2 separate regions of the Homo sapiens genome follow, and region 2 is linked to region 1. The links are contacts of gene promoters, found by promoter capture Hi-C in blood cells and fetal thymus (Javierre and others, 2016). All regions are on one chromosome and are shown on one strand. Each heading gives the region's core, a stretch centred on a gene start or on the middle of the fragment in contact. The rest is flanking DNA. Distances are from core to core; before and after follow the strand shown. Region 1 holds the start of AKAP12 (A-kinase anchoring protein 12). Region 2 overlaps MTHFD1L (methylenetetrahydrofolate dehydrogenase (NADP+ dependent) 1 like).

Region 1 (5,994 bases), core at 1,627-4,126:
TGCCAGGCAACATGGCACGCATGAAGGAACACCGTTGGTCGGCACAACCAGGCGTGTTCCCTGCCCCTGCGAAGTATTCACAACAGCAAGAACACTAAACCCACACATGTGAAAACTGCTGGGACGGGTCCATGGTGCCACGGAGCCTAGAGTGGGAGATGGGATTACTTGGAGGTCAGGAATTGGAGCTTAACAAGAAGAGGGGAGGCAAGGGCCATGGTGCTGAGTCATTCTTAATTGGGGAGTCCTTTTGAAAAGACATTTGTGTTCAAAGCCTGAGTGATAAATTTGGCTAGTTCAAATGAAAACTAAATACATTCCAAGGATACATGTAAGTGCACTGATTTGTCTCCAAATTGATAACTGGGCATTATGCCAACAAGTTCAATGATATTCTGGATGTCATTTAAGTGATTTTTTAAAAGGAGGTTGTTTGGTTGCTTCAAGACGGTTGGCAACTTGGAAAGAGGAAAAGGATAAGGTTATGGAAGACGGAAAAAGAGAATGGAAGGAATATTTTTAAATAAACAAATTCAAGTTTACTGGGAAGGGATTAAATCCCATATTTCAGGGTGAACAGTTAGTAAGATCTGAAGGAGTATAAAAGCCGGGGCGGTGGGGGGAATGTCACCCAACTGCAAGTTTTTAGCAATTATACCTTAAAATTATTTTCATCGCTAGACTCTGACCACTGGTTACAGAGCCACTTTGACAGTAGCTGGCATCAAAACATTATGTGCATACAGTAAGTATTAAAATGCGACTTGAATCTCAAAAGGACAGTACATTCCTCAGGCCAGAAGCTTAAGCATCTCTTAGAAAAACCTACATAGCACAGAGACACAGTTAGTACTTAATATCTAGGGACCATGGATTTTACAAGTAGTTATGAATCAAAGACTGGCGGTAAAAACTATATTATTAACAGCAGTCTCTCAGCCCAAAAGAGACTAGGGCAGCTAAGGAGGTCAAGGCAATTAGGTCATGGTTGTAGGTTCCTTTTTTTTTTTTTTTTTGCATATTGTAAACATCTACACCTCCTGCGATAACTCACGTACTCTATCCTCAAATTTGACATACCGCAAATTTAACTATTAAACATGGTTATCCACATCTTTCTACAAGGTATCACAAGGGTACCTTTGTGATACAAGGGTATCACAAAATCAGTAGAGTGAAGCCTTGCTAATGAACACATGCGCTGGAAAATAGATCTAAAATACCACGACCAGAACAAGCCACAGTCTTGGCGGCTGTCCTGGCCCACAAGAAATATTCCAGCCTTGAAGACTGAAGCCGATAAAATGCAGTCGTTTCAGCACTGCGTCCAGGGAAGAGTACCCGGAATGCTCGTTACACTGACCCCATCCTTTGAGAACTTCTAGCCACTCTAGCGTGTGTTTGGCCAACTGAGTCTGCAGGCAAAGCGCTGAGCGAACGCGAGGGCGCTGGCTGGTTTGCGAAACCTGTCATTCCTTCTGGAAACGCAGCGCCTGCCCAGGTTTTTCCTGGCTCTGAGCGAGCTACACCCCAGGCTTTCTCTGCCTCGGGAAGGCGGTGCCTGCTCGGGCCGCTGCCGCAGGAGGACTGGGTACCAAACCCGCTCGCTCCAGGCACCGCTGGCATCCAGGGCGGTACGCGACGGGGAACCCGAGGGTGGCTGGGCTCCCCGGCGGGCTCCACCACGAGTCCTGGCCTCACAGCTGACTTTCCGCATCTCGGAGCTCCGGAGGCCCGGCCCGGGGTCCATTCTCCACGGATCCCCCTCCGCGCAGCTCCTCCGCCTCGGGCTGCATGGCTCCCACCGGAAGAGTGCGCAGAAAGGCTCAGCCGCCGTGGGCAGGGCGCGGGTTTTATTATTGCGCATGGCGCAGTCGCCTCCCCTGGAGACCCGCGACAAAGATGCAAGCCCCCCGCCGCGCTCGCCGCTGCTCTGGCCCCGCCCCGGCGCGAAAGACCCTGAAAAGCCTCCAAAGAGGGGTTCGCACTCCTGAGTTTGCAGATGCGGCTGGATGGGCTGGGAAGTTCTCTCGGCGGAAATCGGAGGGACCCCCCCACCCCCACCCCCACCCCCAAAGACCCGCGCCTCCCGGCGCAGGTGGCCCGGCACGCCCGTACCTTGGTGGCGGGGTCCGAGGCAGCGATGGCGGGGTCCGCGGTGGTGTCTGGCGCCGCCTCGGCCGAGGGGCCGCCGCCGCTGGGCTCGGGCTCAGCCGGCGTGGAGCTCCCCTCGGGCGGCTGCTCCGGGCTGCGCTGCTCGGTGGAGCTCCCGGCGCCCATGGCTCCTCCGCACTTCTCCCGCGCCTAGCCGCCGGGTTACGCCTTCCCCAAGCCGCAGGGACAGGGGCAAGAGCCAAAAGACGCGCGCCCGCGAGGTCCCGAGAGCGCCTTCCTTCGCCGCCAGCCGACTGCGAACGCGCCCAGCCTGCGAATGAAGGAGACGCGCTCGCGGCAAACTCCTTAAAAGAAAAGGAAAAAAAAAAAAAGGCCACCTCTTAGCCTCCGCCCCCCTCCCCCCGGTTTTTCCCTCGCTTCATCACATGAGCACAGCCCCAGACACGCCCTGCAGCAGCATCTGCCCCCAGGCTGCCGGGACCAGAGGCGCTGCGACGCGCCAGCCCAGGTCCAGGCAGCCGCCCACCCGGCCCTCGGGCGCCTCCCGTTTCTAACAGGGCGACTAGAGCTGCGGGGACGACCCAGGGCCTCAGAAGGCAAGAGAGCAGGGGAGCAAAAAGCCTGCCGGGGACACTGGATTCTCTGGGGTTTATTAAATGATGGATCACCCAAGGCAGGAGCTTCTGCTGCAGCCGACTTTCAGCTCGCCCAGGAGCGAGTCCGAGTCCCCATTTGCTTTCCTGCAGATTGTGTTTAACTCCAAACATTTGTTCCAGCCTCCTCCCCATTAGCAGGAGAAAGGCAAGCGCTCCCTGGCTCCTCCTGAGTCCGACCATATTTGGGCACCTCACGTGGCAAGAGCAGGGAACCGAGAGGTTAACGCAGTCAGGCCACGGATGAGGTGGGCCACGCAGGCCCACGCTCTCCTATCCTCCGGAACAAGTGATGTCAGGCGATGCCATCAGCAGTGCTAGCCGCCCCCCTTCCCCCGGGGAACGGGGGGAAATGAGGCTGTTACCGGAAATGTGCCCGTCCTTCTTTGAGGGCCTGTGCTGGAAGTTACCCATCCAGGCCACCTCTGCTCCGCGCGATGCCGACACATGACAGCATAGATCTGTTCCTTTGCCGTCAGCCTTTCTCAAAAGATGAAGACTTTAAATAATACCAGCACAAGTGGCTTGCATCCTTTCATTTCCGACCCTTGAATATAATATGTATTACATGAGCATGGCAGCCAATCAATAAGTATTTGAACTAAATTAAATTTGTAGCTGGATTGCTTGGCGCAAAGCATTAAGGCTTTGGGGCTGAAAGACAAAATTTATTCCAGTTGTAACTAGCAACCGAGTGCCCCAGTTTTCACAAATACTTTGAATCTCCATTAAGAATGAAGAAACCAGCCTGGTTAACATAGCGAGACCTTGTCTCTACAAAAAATAAAAAAATTAGCCAGGCGCAGTGGTGCACCTGTAGTCCTAGCTACTCAGGAGGCTGGGGACGCTGGGGTAGAAGGATGACTTCAGCCCAGGAATTCGAGGCTGCAGTGAGCTATGACTGTGCCTCTGCACTCCATCCTAGTCGACAGAGCAAGATTCTGTCAAAAAAAAAAAAGAAAGAAAGAAGGAAGAAACTTTCGGAATATTCACACCAAATTCCAGATAAATATCTCATACTCAGATTTAGTACAATTTTGTAGAAAGGGTGTAAGCAGTAGTTCAGCACTAGGATGTTTCATGCCTAATGAATTGCATGAATCGAATGGTACCCTGGGAACCATAGGTTAGTTACTCACCATCAAATTTGTTTTCTGAATTAATTTTTTTTCTTTTTCTTTTTTTGAGACAAGGTCTCGCTGTGTTGCCCAGGCTAGTGTTGAACTCCTGAGCTCAAGCGATCCTCCTGCCTTGGCCTCTCAAAGTGCTGGGATTATAGGTGTGAACCACCACACTGGGCCTGTTTTCTGAATTAATTATTTTTATTTAAAGGACTACACGAAGGCCAATTTCTCTGGAGTTTATCTCTTAAGAAACAGTATATTTGCAAAATGCTTAGTTTTAGGAATTTATACACATTTCCCCCATTTTGACTTAAATTTTGACTATTTAGGAAACATTAGAATTCTTACTCTGTACCAGGCACTGTTCAATGCACTTTACATAATAATCTTTACAATAACCCCATGGGATAGATAGTATTATTCTCATTTTACCATTGGCAGGAGGGGGAGGAGTAGGCCCGGAGAAATTAAATTGTGTGCTTCAGGTTTCACAGCCAGGAGTTGGAAGAGCAGGAAGTCCAACTGGCATCTGCTTTCAGGGTCCACGCTTCACCACCGCATGGCACTCCCCTTCCCTTTCAATCAACTGTGTTCTCTCCTCTCAGAGGTGTTACTGAAACGTGGCATTTGGACCTCACTTAGGATTTTAAGAGCAAAAAGCACTGTTAAAACCTACTTGAGGCCAGGTGTGGTGGCTTACACCTGTAATCCCAGCACTTTGGGAGGCCGAGGTGGGTGGATCACCTGAGGACAGTAGTTCAAGACCAGCCTGGGCAACATGGTGAAACCCCGTCTCTACTAAAAGTACAAAAATTAGCCAGGCATGGTGGCGCGTGTCTGTAATCCCAGCTACTCAGGAGGCCAAGACACGAGAACTGCTTGAACCTGGGAGGTGGAGGTTGCAGTGAGCTGAGATCATGCCATTGCACGCCAGCCTGGATGACAGATTAAGACTCCGTCCCAAAAAAAAAAAAAGAAGAAGAAAAAAAAAACTATTTGAGAATGATTAACGTCAGCACATTTGAAAATGTATCAGTAAGTAGCACAAATACTATCAACATTTTCACATTCTGTGAGATTATATTTACTTTGTTCCTGGGAAATTCTTAGCAAAGCTTTTCACATCTACTACCCTTTAAATTTTCAGAAAGGATTGCAGGGTCAAGCCAACAGTGTACAACCTACGTGCTGAGGAAGATATCAGCATCTGCTTAGATTAGCAGTTACTTGCTTTTTGTTTATTTTCCAGGCCATGTAAATGTTCATACTCTTATTTGTAAAAAGTAAAATCATTGCGCTGGGCGCGGTGGCTCACGCCTGTAATCCCAGCACTTTGGGAGGTTGAAGTGGAAGGATTGCTTGACACCAGGGGTTCAAGACCAGCCTGGGCAACACAGTGAAACTCCCATCTCTACAAAAAATAAAAAAAAATTTAGCCAGGAGTGGTGGTGCATGCCTGTAGTCCTAGCTACTTGGGAGGCTGAGGCGGGAGGATCACTTGAGCCCAGGAGTTCCAGACTGCAGCCTGGATGACATAGTGAGACCCTGTCTCAAAAAAAAAAAAGAGAAGAAAAGAAAAGTGGTTGTGTTATTAATGACCTCTAGCGATGAAATAGCCCAACCTTTTGGGTATGCCACTTAGTGCTTCAGAATGCTACAAAGTTTGTTACTTTTTTTACTTTTCTTTCTTTCTTTCTTTTTCTTTCTTTCCTTCTTCTCTGTTCTTTCTTTCTTTTTCTTTCTTTCCTTCTTCTCTTTCTTTCTTTCAATAAATTTCTATCAAGTACCTATTATGTGCCAAGCACAAAGTTACCACTCTAGTTTCCAAGGTTCTAAATCGAGTCACTGAGGTTTTCTTTTCTAGGGCTTCCAAGATGCCTTCGGAATTGCTTGGATTGGCATCAGAGTAGAGGGGAGGCAGGTGTTCTCTATTTTTCACTTCTCAGTCCAAGGCTGTTGGTTCAATGTCTCACCAGCAGCTCAATTTTTCTCCAAATAGCAGGATGCAGGTGTCCCCACACATCCTCTCCCATGGGGCAGTCGTTGGTAGAGCTGTTTCCCTGAGAGGGTTAATTCTCTCATAAACACAGTTTGAGATTTCT
Region 2 (6,251 bases), core at 3,380-5,879, 270 kb after region 1:
CACAGTGCAGGCTTGACCAAGCAATGGGCAAGGAACACTGTCTCCTGACCACACCCCGTTCCCACTGTGCAATACACTGGCTTTGCCACCAGCATTCCAACAGAGCCACAGCATGGACACACCACCTTCGGGAGAGTTCAACATTACAGGGCTAGAGTTCCGTGGTACGTATTTGTGAATATAAGTCATTGCCATCACATATTTAGACATCATAGAGCACGATTTTTAGACATTAAAATATATTTGTACATCTATGTTCATAGCAGCATTATTCATAAGAGCCAAAGGTGGAAACAAGTCAAATGTCCAATGTAGGATGAGTGGATAAACAAAGTATGGTCTATCCATACGATGGAATATTATTCCGCCTTAAAAAGGAAGAGAATTCTAGCCGGGTGTGGTGGCTCACACCTGTAATCCCAGCACTTTGGGAGGCTGATATGGGTGGATCACCTGAGGTCAGGAGTTTGAGACCAGACTGACCAACATGGAGAAACCCCATCTCTACTAAAAAATACAAAAATTAGCTGGGCGTGGTGGTGCATGTTTGTAATCCCAGCTACTCGGGAGGCTGAGGTAGGAGGATCGCTTGAACCTGGGAGGCGGAGGTTGCAGTGAGCTGAGATTGTGCCATTGCGCTCCAGCCTGGGCAACAAGAGCGAAACTCCATCTCACAAAAAATAAAAAAAAAAAAAAAAAAAAGGAAGAGAATTCTGACGCCTGCTGCAACATGGATGAACCTTGAGGACATTATGCTAAGTGAAATAAGTCAGTCACAGAAGGACAAATACTACATGATTCCACTCACATGGGGTATCCAGGAGTCAACTTCATTGAGACAGAAAGTAGAAGGGCACTGCCAGGGGCTGGAGAATGAGGAATATTTAATGGGCATGGGACTTCGGTTCTGCAGCTTGGTTGCACAACAATGAAGGTGTACTTCACTAATGAACGTACACTCAAAAATGGTGAAGATGGTAACTTTCATGTTACGTGTATTTTATAACAACTATAAATAAAATCATCCAAAAAATAAAAAGATCCAAAGAAAAAAGAAAATGTAACCTTCATCAGTAGTGTATCAATAGTGGGGGTAACAATGACAGCCAGGAGTGGCCAAGAAGGATTGAGTCTTACCATGTGTCAGGTGCCAGGACTCAACCCCATGATCTCATTGATGCCTCATTTCAAACCTACCAAGTCCTTTCGAGAGGGAAGCCCTATCCAAAGCCCTATTTTACAGGTAGGGAAACCAAGGAAGAGAAGGGTTCATGTGCCCAAGGTTATCTGTGACTTGAAAGCAGTTGAGGTAAAACCTCTGACTTAGGGCTTGCCCTTTGAACCATCTGGCAACGGACAGATTTCATCCTCATGAAAAACCCCCCCACTTACGGCATCTTAGACTAGATGAGATCATAGAAAGAATTAGTATAATTGCTGACCTGAACATAGTTCATATTTTACAAAGCAGTTTCTCACTTGATCCTATTCATTAAAATACAGAAGTATTCTTTTTATTAAATAAAAAATTGAGCCCTAGAGAAATGAAAACACACTACCAGTCAGGGCTCCAATTCCACAGTGTCTAACTCTGAGTCCACGGCTACACATCCACATCCAACTCCTCATCTGGTCCAACTTCTCATTTTTCAGATGAGAATGTCTACAGGGGACACACCCAGAGAGGCTAATGGCTTGTTCAAGGTCACACAGAGGGCTCGTTTGCTTTGCATACATCATCAGTTTATATCTTTGAAAGTATTCTGCCATGATAACATGTATTTTATAAATATGTGTTTGACAAAGTAAGAACTGGTATGGGCAGAGATCTCTGTCAGCATAAAATAGAGTGCTTCCTTCTAGAAGCTACTTTATTTGCAGAGCTGATGCATCAGAACCACCACTTCACTTAAGCACCCAACTTTCCAGTGCCCGCCCTGACCCAGCCTCCTCGTCCATTAGCTCTACAATTAGGCAGCGATCAATTGAGCAAATCCACTTAGACAGTATGTCTAGCCACTCTTGCAGTGGATTTGCTACCGAAGGAGCAAAGTACATGAGAGCTGCAGAAAACAGATCATGGAGGAGTGGAGCTCCACCAAGCCTCATCTGATCCTGACTGCCAGTCCACAAGGAATTCTTAAAAGAGTCTCAATAACACTGAATGAACTTTGTGATGTCTGAGCATAAAATGCAGTGCCAAGTTCTTTTGTCCAGCACACTCTCTTCTAATAAAATAACTCTTTTGAGTTTGATCCAAAGCTGATGATAAGAGTGAAAGAAGAGATTGCTGTCTCCGATTATAGGTATACGTGTGGTTAATGGGAATTACCTGTTAGCATGGGAAATCTGCCAATGCAGTCCCTCATATGTCAGATTAAGGGACTCCTCCATGAATGCCTGTGTTTTGGTTTTGTCTTTTGTTTCCTTGCTGCCTTAGTATTGTGGGTGAGACTGGGGCTGGCACTGACTTAGTAAACTCTATGAGAGTTGCCCCTTCTTTCTAGCTGGAATATGCAAGAAAAGCCAAAGAGGAACAGGTTCTGCAAAGAACTTGACAGCAGCAAAAGGTGTGCAGTACTACCAATTAACATTTCTAAGTCTACTGGTTGGGAATCTCTCCTATATTAGCTCACAAAAAACAAGGAGAAACTGTACATGGAAATAAACCCACGACTTCAAGTTATCAGTACTACATAGTAAGGGTAGTAATGGCTGACAGTCAATGAGCACTTTCTCTTATTCAATTACCATTAGACAGTACGCTCCACAGGAGCAGGGGCTAAGGCTGGTTGTTTTAATTTTAATTTTTTCACAGAGGCAGGGTCTTCTATGCTGCCCAGGCTGGACACAAACTCCTGGGCTCGAGCAATCCTCCTGCCTCGGCTTCCTGAGTAGCGAGGCATGTGCCACTGCGCCTATCTGTTTTGCTTACCACTGGATCCCTAGCTAACATGCCTTCTAAGTGGTAGGTTCTCAAAAAACATTTGCTGAATGACTAAAATATCTCATTCAGTTTTCATAACAACCCTAAAAGGTTTGATACAGTATTGTTATCACTATTTTACACACAAGAAAACCGAAGCTCAGTAGTAATTAAAATGTGTCCAATGTCACTCAGTTTGCAAGAGTCAGAGTTTATACTCAAACCCATATGTACTTGATACCAGACTCTATGATTCAAGCACAAGCATAATTTCACGAGTATAGACCAGACCTTAGGGCTTTTCCATTATTGAGACCCTCTATGAAAGAGGGTGCCTGAAAGAATATGTTTCATGTCAGGATGGATATCACTCCATTCCAGTCATCAGCTTTTAGATTTCTTCAATATTCTACAACAACTAAATTTAAAAGAAATAACTTACCTACAAATCCTTCTTCACCAACCAGTTTCAGGGCAATTTTATCAGCCAACACTGAAGAGTTGCCGTGAGCAATGTTAGCAAAAGGGCCCGCATGCACGAACACAGGTGTCCCCTAGAGAAGTGAAAAAGCAAATCAAAATCCCAAAAGACAAACAGAAGCATGGAAACCAAGATCAATTTGGGGCAAATGGGGTAGGAAAGCTTTTATGAATACTGCATATTTAATGCATAAAATATTTCAAAGACAGTCAAAACACCCTGACTCAATCAAAGGACCAAATTCCCTCCGGATTCTAGAAAAATGTTATTCTACATTTAATGCTGAACCTGAGAGACAAAACTGTGAGAATACAGTCACTTCCTTCCAAAATATTGTTAAACCATTTTGTTAGTTGCCTCAATGACCATGAAATAAATTATTTACCTTATTTTATGTTGCCATGCACTATATTTTTTTAAAAGAATGAAATTAAACCCTGATGGTATAAAAGGTATATTTATTTTTTTAATTAAGAAATGATTCCATTCAAGAAAAGGTAACCATAAAAATCATTACAATTGGCTGGGCACAGTGACTCACGCCTGTAATCCCCGTACTTTGGGAGGCCAAGATGGGCGGATCGCCTGAGGTCAGGAGTTCAAGACTGGCCTGGCCAACAGTGAAACCCGTCTCTACTAAAAATACAAAATTTAGCAGGGTGTGGTGGTGTGCTCCTGTAAACCCAGCTCAGCTACTCGGGAGGCTGAAGCACAAGAACAGCTTGAACCTGGGAGGTGGAGGTTGCAGTGAGCTGAGATCGCACCACTGCACTCCAGTGTGGGTGACAGACCGACTCTGACTCAAAAATGAAAAAAATAATAAATAAAAATAAATAAATAAAACCTAGGGACACATGTTTATGAATACACAGGTGGTGTCTAACTGGAATTTTGTATTATTTGGTCAACTTCTCCATCCCCCACTGCCTCTGATAACCACTATTCTACTCTTTACTTTGCAAAAGCACTTTATATTTTTGTATAAATGTAGCTTTAGCTAGAAATCACAGAATCAGATAATGTTGAGAGCACGAAGCAGCCAACTTCTTTATCCAGAAATTTAAGGCCCAGAGAGGCTAAGGGAATTCTTCAGGGCCACGGAGGAAATTAATAATTAAGTCAAGATTAGGGCTCTGGTTTTAAAACTCCCAGTATGGAGTTGGTGAGAAAAAAATATTGGAATGTCATTGTTAGACTTCCAAACACAGGTACACACACACTTGCACACTCAAACATGGATATAGCTATAAGATACAGTACATCAAATTAAACATGTTGCTTAAAAAATTCTATGACTAACTCAAAGGCATACACACATTTATCTTGAGTTCTGGGTTTTATTTTACATGCAGAACACTCAGGAAAATAAGGCAGGAACTATCTTGCTATGAATATTCTCCATAATGGCCCTTTCAAACATTTCATAAGATTAATATTTCAAGTAATTTCAAGTAATTGTTAGCTTACCAGAGTTCTAAGCACTTAAATATGAACAGTAAAATATAAACAAATAAATGCATAAATGGAAATGTGGCTAAAATGACTGAAGAACTGAATTCCAAATTTTATTGAAGTTTAGGTAATTTAGATTGAAATGGCCACATGTCCAGTGGCCGCCATATTGGACAGTGTGCTCTCGCATGTGAAGTTTCCATCAACACCACACACGGCTAACCTGTGGGAAAATGTTAACAGCTCTCACTGTTTTCTTGTCTTAAGTCTTCCTCAGTCTGGCAATACATGATACCCAAGCCTTATCCTCAGACATTACGTTCACTGGGTCTGATGGGGAGCCCGGCATCAATCAATCAATATTCTTAAACCTTCCCAGGAGCTTCTCAAGTGCAGTCAGGATTAAGAACTACTGGTCTCCTGGCAACCTGTAAGGATGTGGCCCTTGATGACCTCCTACCAGACTAACAACCAGGTGTGTTCAGATGTGAGCGGGAAAGCATAATCTACCAACTAGTCAAACTAGATTTTTGGATTATCTGCTGAGATAGATTCCTAGTCAATGATTAGATACATAAAACCCAGAGTGACAACATAGGATCAGGGTACAAGAGTTCACGTCTGCAAATATTTTAAGTGAATGCAGTGTTTTATTTTGTAAAAAGGTCCATATCTTTTAAAGTAATCTTAAAACAGCCTATGCCTTAAATGAAATCGATGACACGGAACATCCTGAAGATGGTATCTTCATTTGCCAAGTGACAGATGCAGAAACAAAACCCAAGTCCATATAATCATCTGGTGGAAGTGGTTTCTCTATGGAAAGCTTTGTTTGCTTCCTACAAATGCATGCTTATCCTTTAAGGGATGTATTATAGTTACTGTGGATTTCTCTGTTTTCCGACTTACAAGAAACTTGTCTATGTACCTTCATACTTTGTTTAGGTTGAGGAGTTCTTGTGTCCTTGTAAAGTAGTCTGAAGAATTCCCCCTTCTTTCCCTAGCAAGCCCAGTCCTGTATATGAACAGTTTGAGGACTCTTTTTTTTTTTTTTTGAGGCAGGGTCTCAGTCTATTTTATGTCTCAATCTGTCGCCCAGGCTGGAGTGCAGTGGCATGATCTCTGCTCACTGCAACCTCCACCTCCCCGGTTCAAGCTATTCTCCTGCCTCAGCCTCAGCAGGTCTTATTGCCCTTACTTTTATTTGCTTTTTAAGGGTTCTGAATCTCTGATTTATTAGGCAGCAAAGAAATAACAGGTTTAGATTATGTTTTAAAAAGTGCTCAGGCCGGGCACGGTGGCTCACACCTATAATCCCAGTACTTTGAGAGGCAGAGGCAGACGGATCACCTGAGGTCAGGAGTTTGAGACTGGCCTGGCCAACATGGTGAA

What was found. Contacts are between HindIII fragments. The CHiCAGO score rates a contact against its expected background, and 5 or more counts as called.
Region 2: a contact is called between a fragment that was not itself captured here and the fragment with the promoter of AKAP12 in region 1, in 1 of 17 cell types (endothelial precursors). The highest score is 5.4, in endothelial precursors.

The regions. Positions count from the first base shown.
Region 1 is chr6:151,236,849-151,242,842 of GRCh38, reverse strand. It overlaps AKAP12 (A-kinase anchoring protein 12), which reads right to left and starts at 2,876. Exons shown (of 5, transcript NM_005100.4): 1 at 2,784-2,876; 2 at 2,119-2,459. The coding sequence starts at 2,280. RefSeq lists enhancers at 1,909-2,486, 2,564-3,073. The HindIII fragment of the contact is 4,204 bases long and covers 806-5,009 here.
Region 2 is chr6:150,969,176-150,975,426 of GRCh38, reverse strand. MTHFD1L (methylenetetrahydrofolate dehydrogenase (NADP+ dependent) 1 like) reads right to left here. Exons shown (of 28, transcript NM_015440.5): 20 at 3,369-3,480. Among named protein-coding and RNA genes, the nearest start is that of MTHFD1L, 110 kb to the right of the region's middle. The HindIII fragment of the contact is 2,116 bases long and covers 3,572-5,687 here.